Linked DNA regions of Homo sapiens: regions 1 and 3 are each linked to region 2. Evidence: promoter capture Hi-C in human tissues and cell types (Jung and others, 2019). All regions are on one chromosome and are shown on one strand. The core of a region is centred on a gene start or on the middle of the fragment in contact, and the rest is flanking DNA. Distances in the headings are between cores, read along the strand shown.

What was found. The method cuts DNA at HindIII sites, captures the fragments that hold promoters and counts their contacts. A contact is called where the count stands out against the background at its distance.
Region 1: a contact is called between the fragment with the promoter of HAS1 here and a fragment that was not itself captured in region 2, in 1 of the 25 tissues and cell types used here (stomach).
Region 3: a contact is called between the fragment with the promoter of SIGLEC14 here and a fragment that was not itself captured in region 2, in 1 of the 25 tissues and cell types used here (pancreas).

What each region holds. Positions count from the first base shown.
Region 1 is chr19:51,722,588-51,725,287 of GRCh38, reverse strand. It overlaps HAS1 (hyaluronan synthase 1), which reads left to right and starts at 1,297. Exons shown (of 5, transcript NM_001297436.2): 1 at 1,297-1,363. The coding sequence starts at 1,355. The HindIII fragment of the contact is 37,877 bases long and covers 1-2,700 here.
Region 2 is chr19:51,684,952-51,687,651 of GRCh38, reverse strand. SPACA6-AS1 (SPACA6 antisense RNA 1) reads left to right here. Exons shown (of 2, transcript NR_108100.1): 2 at 1-2,289. It also overlaps a transcript of SPACA6 not described here. Among named protein-coding and RNA genes, the nearest start is that of MIR99B, 6.3 kb to the left of the region's middle. The HindIII fragment of the contact is 5,980 bases long and covers 1-2,700 here.
Region 3 is chr19:51,645,375-51,648,074 of GRCh38, reverse strand. SIGLEC14 (sialic acid binding Ig like lectin 14) reads left to right here and starts at 1,250. Exons shown (of 7, transcript NM_001098612.3): 1 at 1,250-1,352; 2 at 1,435-1,818; 3 at 2,015-2,293; 4 at 2,545-2,598. The coding sequence starts at 1,316. The HindIII fragment of the contact is 12,517 bases long and covers 1-2,700 here.

The DNA of each region.
Region 1 (2,700 bases), core at 48-2,547, 38 kb before region 2:
AGGGACAGACGAGGAGAGAGAAGCACGGGGGAATTTCTCTCTGCTGCTCCATGTCTTTCAGCCTGTCCTGGAGCTGGCCCGTGCCAGACACCAAAGGTCGTTGGAGTCACAGGCAGGGAGAAAAGAACGAGGCAGCTACCGAGGCAGCTACCAAGGCCGAAAGTGAGACATCAATAGTTCACAGTAAGAGGAGCAGAGAGAAGAACAGAATTAGATACAGATAGTTTTTTTAAAAAATTCATGGAAAGAAGGGCATGTAAACAGACATTTATCACAGATCTGGTCCTGAGGGGCTGGGGTTCGGGCACCCCAGGTCCCGCATCTCTTTTCACCCTTCCTCTGACTCAGTTTCCCTGATGGGTGACAGCACTGACAGACCCCGGCTGGCTCCCCAGGGTCAGCTGACCGACAACTCTCTGTGTTCATCCCTGAGTCCCTGGGGATACAAATCCCAGCGCCCCAGCTCTCCACCCCAGACCCTGGTGCACACACGCAGACCCACGTCAGTTAGGCGCTGAATGGACAGATGTTCACTCACAGCTCCGGTTCCAGGCAGCCGTGCCTCGGGCCAGCGTACACACAGGCACACCCACAGCACGCACGTGTGTGAGTTTCGTTCCATCTGCCAGTTGCTGAGACATGTCCCTGGGGGGCCCAACCCAGAGATGGATTCTGGGGACAGGAGAGGCGGCTGTGGGGAGAAGCAGGGCGGGGGTGACTGGGGAAGGTGAGAAGGGGGAGGTGGGGAGAGCTTTAAAGCAAGAAGAGAAAGAAATGAGGGTGAGAGGAGGCAAGAGAAGTGGAGAGGAAGAAAGGGATGGAGAGAAAGACAGAAACTTGGAGAAATGTGGTAATGGGGAGAGAGATGAGGGTACCAACAAAGAGATGAGGAGAAATAGTGGGTTAGGGAGAAAGAAAGGGATGGAGGGAAATACAGGGATAGGGGATGGGGGGATGAGGGGAACCCCCAAAATGCAAGTGAGGTGGAAGAGAAAAATCAGGGGAGACAAGGGACGAGAGGGGGGAGGAAGAGAGAAGAAGACATAGAGGAGGGAGGGAGAGGAGGGGGAGTGATGGCAGAGAGGACTAGAGGAGGGGCGCGGGTAGACATGGGGGCCTGGGAAGGGAGGCCCGTCTGGCTGAGGGGGGTGGGAGTAATAGCGGGAAGCGGGTGGAGCTGCCCGGCTGGGCCGTGACCTCAGAGCCCCTGGCCCAGCTTAGCCTGACTGACGTCAGCGCTCGCTCCCGCCCCCGCCTGCGCTGGTCTTCAAATGACCCCCCTCCAGCTCTCTGGCCACAGAGAGGCTGGGAGAGCAAGCCGGAGAGAAGAGAGAGCCCGGCCAGACCCACTGCGATGAGACAGGTGTGTGTGTGTGTGTGTGTGTGTGTGTGTGTGTGTGTGTATACAGCCATGTGGGGAAAACTACTGCCATATGTGTGACCACGTGTGTTGGGGAACTGTGTGTGCATGATTTCATGTGTGTATCCATGTGCCTGACAGTGACCATATGTGTGTAGGGGACAGTGAGCATGTGAGGCTGAGTGTGCAGGTCTGTGTATACATTGCCCTGTGTGAGCGGCCATCCCAAGTACATGTAGGTGAGACGTGCCATGTCCGTATTTCTGTATCTGCGTATCTTGCTACAAACTTGTGTATGTCTATGTTCCCTGGGAGGCAGAGAGAAAGAGGGAGTGCGACAGTGAGCGAATGAAAGAGACTGAGTGAGAAAGAGAGTTGGATTTGCCTGTGGCACATGGGAATGGATTTCTGTTTCATGCGTTCAATAGCTATTAAGTTGAACCAAATGAAATCGCCGATACTGAGCCACTCTAAACTTGGAAGAATAGCAATTTCATCTGGTTCAGTATCAGCTTGACAGTCACCTACTATTTCTCTTGAAATCTTCCCTGTGCATCCCATTGCCCCAGACTCTCAGTTGGGGCTCTGTGTGTTTGTGGCCACGTGGACATCCTTTGCTGGTGTTGCTTTTTCCTGCTGAGGGGTGTGTGTCTGCAGGTTCACCTGTGTGGCCGTCGGTGGGGGTCACGGGATCGCTGTGTTTGGCCTGAGTGGGTGTCTCGGGTCATCCTGTAGAACACGAGTAATTTCATTCTGTGTGTCACTCATCATGTGTGAGTTCACGTGTGGGGGAGTGTGTCTACACGTGTGTTCATCTGTGTTTCTGGAATCAACTCTCTGGATCCCCAGCATGAATTGAGCCATCCCTAGGAACTCAGGCAAGGCCAGGTTTGAAGCAAAGGAAGAGAGAAGGGGGATTCGAGAAGAAAGAATAATGTTTAATGTTGAGAGTTTAAAAGCTGTACCTCAGTTTTGTCCTCTAGAAATGTAACGAAAACCACAATATCTAATTTAAAATTTTCTTGTGGCCACATTTGAAAAAGTAAAAACAAACAGGTGAAATTAATTTTAATAATATATTTTTATTTAACCCAGTGTGTCAGGGGCCAGCACATTTTTTTAAATAAAGGGCCCAATATTAAATATTTGAGGCTTTTGGGGGCCATCTGGTCTCTTTTGAAAGTACTCAACTTCGATGTGGTAAATGTAGAATCAGCCACAGATGATGTATAAACAAATGAATGTGGTTGTATGCAAATAAAACTTCCTTTAAGGACACTGAAATTTGAATTTCATATTTTTCATGCTCCACAAACTATTATTCTTCTTTTGGCTTTCAA
Region 2 (2,700 bases), core at 137-2,636:
CAGCCACCCAGTTCTCCTCTCTGGGGACAGCATATATTCACTAATTTCTTATGTATCTTTCCAGAGGAATTTTATACATCTATGCACATATATACCACCCTCCTCTTTTCTGTCCCCTGATAGGATCACATTATTCTGCACCTTGGTTTTTTTTTTTTTTTTTACATGATATCCAAAGATCCTCCCATATCTAGGCTTATAGAACCTCCTCATTCATTTTAATAGTGATATAATATTCCATTGTATTCATCTATTTATTCCTAGTGTATTCAGTTAATTGGGAGATTGGGAGGTTTTTTATGTCAAGAAACTAATGGTTATGCATATTGATATTTACAGATTTGCTTATGTATGTATGTATGTATGTATGTATGTATGTATGTATGTATGTATTTATTTTTGAGACGGATTGCCCAGGCTGGAGTGCAGTGGCATTATCTCAGATCACTGCAACCTCTGCCTTCCAGGTTCAAGCCATTCTCCCACCTCAGCCTCCCACGTGGTTGGAACTACAGGCCTGCGCCACCAGGCCCGGCTAATTTTTGTGTATTCTGTAGAGATGGGGTTTTGCCACGTTTGCTGGACTGGTCTTGAACTTCTGACCTCAAGTGATCCTCCCACCTTGGCTGAGCCACCACACCTGGCCCAAATTTGCTGATTTTTAAAGTGATTTTGTCCAATGCTTTTAAGCCTCTAAACCCAGATATTCGATAAATGCTTACTTCTAGATCCTTTAAAATTTGTTGATAATTACTAACAATGGGATAATAATAATGACAACAGATACCCTTTATTGAATGACTACTTGGAGCCAGTTCCTGGGATGAGTATTTGTTATACATTATATCATTGATTACACAGAAACCTTATTATTAGAAACTATTATTATCCCAATTGTAAGGATGGAATACTGAATAGGATGCAGTTCTGAATAGCGAGTTGCCCAAGCTCACAAAGTATGTGATGGAGCTAGAGATTCAAACCCAGGCCTCTCTGGCTCCTTCTTTGGGGTGGGCTTGCTCTGGGAAAATATGCTATTTCTAAGGATTGACACTGGGTACATTTAAACTTGTCATGCACACAAATTCATGTATGATTAAGAAGGACCCTTTGTCAGACCCCTCACTTTCACTTACGATCTAGAGTTACTGTCATTCTACATTCACCCTGGATGCCCTGTAGACAGATCAGGACAGGCACCACATCACAGTCCTTGTCCTGGCCCTGATCCTGTTGTGTTGTGATTTTCTACGTCTGGGTCTGTCTTTGGGAATTTACTGAGGGCACAGTCTGGGTCTGAGTCATTTCTGTGTCCTCAATATCACTCCACCCAGGCATGGCTCAGAGCAGGGGCTCAGGAAAATGTTTGCTAAGTGAATGAATGAGGAGATGAGTGAATAATAAATGACTTGTGGATTAGGCTGGGACTTGCTTAAGCCCCCCAGGAACAGTGACCATAATTCCCATTAGTTTCTGAAACATAAGGCCTCTGTTCTGTTCTCATCAGTTAGCAAGTCACAGGGACCACTGGTTCCTTCATTCTCTGAAATACAGGGCTCCAAATCTCTCAGCACATAAGACTCATCTACTGCAATTCCTACAAATATCCAGAACTCAGGATCCATCATTGCCTTCACTCCCTGAAACAGGGGGCCACCATTCCCATCAGACATTGGCACACAAGTACAGGTTGAGCATCCTTAATGCAAAAATCTCGAATCTGAAATGCTCCAAAATCAAAAACTTTTTGAGCACCGACGTAACGTCAGAAGTGAAAAATTTCATTCCATCACTTGATCTCATGTGATAGATTGCAGTCAAAACTTTGTTTCATGGGGCTGGGCACAGTGGCTTATGCCTGTAATCCAGCTGTTTGGGAGGCTAAGGCAGGAGGATCACTTGAGCCCAGGAATTTGAGACCAGCCTGGGCAACATAGTGGGATTCCCATCTCTACAATAAAAAAATTTAAAACTTAGCAGGGCATGGTGATGCATGCTTCTTCTCCCAGCTACTAGGGAGGCTGAGGTGGGAGGATTGCTTAAGCCCAGGAAGTTGAGGCTGCACTCCAGCCTGGTTGATAGAGTGAGACCCTGTCTTAAAACAAACAAAAAACCTTGTTTCATGCACAAAAATATTGTATAAAATTATCTTCAGGCTATGTGTAGAAGGCATATATAAATGAAATGAAAACAAATGAATTTTGTGTTTGGACTTGGGTCTCATCCCCAAATATCTGATTTTATATATATGAAAATAGTCCAAAATACAAAATAAAAAAATCAAACCTGAAACACTTTCTGTCTCAAGTATTTTGGATAAGGGATGCTCAACCTATATCACCATCTTTATCAGTCTCTGCTACCCAATATTGTAATTCTCATACTTCTTAGACACAGGGGCCACCATTCTCATCAACTGCTGAAACTCAAGTTCCACTATTATTACCTCTTGGAACAGCACTTCAAAGGAAAATAGAAACTTCCTACCCTTCACAAGGTCATCCCAAGTTCCTGAAACAGGAACTGGTAGACAGGAGGACACCTTAACCTACCTTGAATTAGGTCTGAGTCAAGGACTTACACGTTGATACTATAGAACAGGCGGCACCGGGTCATGAGGAACATCAAAGTAGCAGAGAATCCTTCCATGTGAGGGATCAACCCTAAAACCAAGATAATCCGATAGCACCACCAGACAAT
Region 3 (2,700 bases), core at 1-2,500, 39 kb after region 2:
TGGAGTGCAGTGGTGCGATCTCGGCTCACTGCAAGCTCCACCTCCCGGGTTACGCCGTCCTCCTGCCTCAGCCCCCCCAGTAGCTGGGACTACAGGCGCCCGCCACCACGCCCGGCTAATTTTTTGTATTTTTAGTAGAGACGGGGTTTCACCATGTTAGCCAGGACGGTCTTGATCTCCTGACCTCGTGATCCACCCGCCTCGGTCTCCCAAAGTGCTGGGATTACAGGCGTGAGCCACTGCGCCCGGCCTTCTTTTTTTACTGTTCTTCGTGGAGCAGGGGTATGCATAAGCAGTGTGCCCAGAGGAGCCCCCACTAGGATTTTTGACTTACCTTCTCATCCTAAGAGTTTATCCTTTGCTGTATCTCCAGCTCCTAAAACAGGGGGCCTGGTGCACCATAGGCGCCCATGAAGCATCAGTTGAATGAGTGAATTCTCGGGGCCAGACACTGTCCTAAGCACTTTACACATGAGACCTCACTGAATCCCCACACAGCAATTCTATTATTGTCTGCATTTTTCAGCTGAGCAAACTGAGGCACAGAGAGGGTAGGTAACTTTTGTAAAGTTCAACAGCCGGTAGGTGAGGGGTCTGGGTTCACACTTGGTATTCCATATCCTCAACGTTCACATTTCAAATGCCCGGCTCTCAAGCCTCATCTGGCTGTCAACATCAGGGATGGGGTCTGACGCTGCCTGGGACAAGGACAAGGATGAGATGAGGTTCCCAAATCCAACTGGTGGTGGGGACCACATCTCTCTTGACTGCTAAGGACCCGGTCATGTCCACCTGATGTGTTTGTCCCTGACAACTTGCCTTCCCTCTGGAAAGAGGAAAGTCTTCCCCACCTGAAACCCCCAGCGTGTGCTTCCCTCACCACAGCTCCTATCATGTCATAAAGGATTTATTCTCCCATCTCGCTGAGGGTCCCGAGGCCCTGACTCCCAGGGAGCTGGCCAAGTGGTGTTCTCCTTCCTATGTAGACAAAGGTGCATAAGGAAAGTGCTGCAGCTATGGGACCTGGTGACCTCAGGAGTCTAGACTTACAAGTCTGGACAAGCCCCTCTGGGGGCCTCAGTATCTTCACCATCGGCGTCCAGTGGGGGTGGGAGCAGAATGGCTTCCCAGCCCCAGCCTCACCCCAACAGCACGTGATGCCCAAGTTCCCCTTCTGTGCGCGTCCACAGCTCTCACTCACCCTCCGGCTTCCTGTCGGGGCTTTCTCAGCCCCACCCCACGTTTGGACATTTGGAGCATTTCCTTCCCTGACAGCCGGACCTGGGACTGGGCTGGGGCCCTGGCGGATGGAGACATGCTGCCCCTGCTGCTGCTGCCCCTGCTGTGGGGGGGTGAGTGAGCTGAGGGAGGAGGGACAGGCACAGGGGTGAGAAGGGGGGCTGGAGCTGCAGCTGAGCTTCTGTGTCCCCCCAGGGTCCCTGCAGGAGAAGCCAGTGTACGAGCTGCAAGTGCAGAAGTCGGTGACGGTGCAGGAGGGCCTGTGCGTCCTTGTGCCCTGCTCCTTCTCTTACCCCTGGAGATCCTGGTATTCCTCTCCCCCACTCTACGTCTACTGGTTCCGGGACGGGGAGATCCCATACTACGCTGAGGTTGTGGCCACAAACAACCCAGACAGAAGAGTGAAGCCAGAGACCCAGGGCCGATTCCGCCTCCTTGGGGATGTCCAGAAGAAGAACTGCTCCCTGAGCATCGGAGATGCCAGAATGGAGGACACGGGAAGCTATTTCTTCCGCGTGGAGAGAGGAAGGGATGTAAAATATAGCTACCAACAGAATAAGCTGAACTTGGAGGTGACAGGTATGGCAGGAACCCTAGGAGAGGACCCTGGGACGTGGAGACCCCCGTATGAGAACAGGGACAGGAGTTGGGCAGGGGCGGCTGGAGGAGGTGTAGGACTTGGGGCAGGTCGGGGCCTGAGGCCTGGCCACTCTCGGGGTCACACCTTACGTCCTCAAGCCCCTGGGGCCCAGGTATCTCCCTGTCTCCTCCTCAGCCCTGATAGAGAAACCCGACATCCACTTTCTGGAGCCTCTGGAGTCCGGCCGCCCCACAAGGCTGAGCTGCAGCCTTCCAGGATCCTGTGAAGCGGGACCACCTCTCACATTCTCCTGGACGGGGAATGCCCTCAGCCCCCTGGACCCCGAGACCACCCGCTCCTCGGAGCTCACCCTCACCCCCAGGCCCGAGGACCATGGCACCAACCTCACCTGTCAGGTGAAACGCCAAGGAGCTCAGGTGACCACGGAGAGAACTGTCCAGCTCAATGTCTCCTGTGAGTGGTGCTGGGGACACAGCTGAGTCCCCAAGGGCAGTGGGAGTGAGGGGGGTGTGTGTGTGTGTGTGTGTGTGTGTGTAGAAGAGAGAGAGAGAAAGAGAATGATAACCAGGGAAAACTCGTGTGTGGGCAGGAAGGACAGCGGTCCCCACCTGGTGGGTTTCTGTGGCCCCTCCTTGGGTCCCTCCCGGGACCACGCCCATCCCTCTTGTCACCTCTGAAGCTGGTGCTGTATCTTTCTATCCCAGATGCTCCACAGAACCTCGCCATCAGCATCTTCTTCAGAAATGGCACAGGCACAGGTAGGAAAGACCCTCTTCCCTCTGGGGCTGTGATGGGAGCCTTCTATTAGCTCAGGGTTCAGCATTGGGAGAGGAGACCCTCCCTCACCCCTCAGCCCCTGG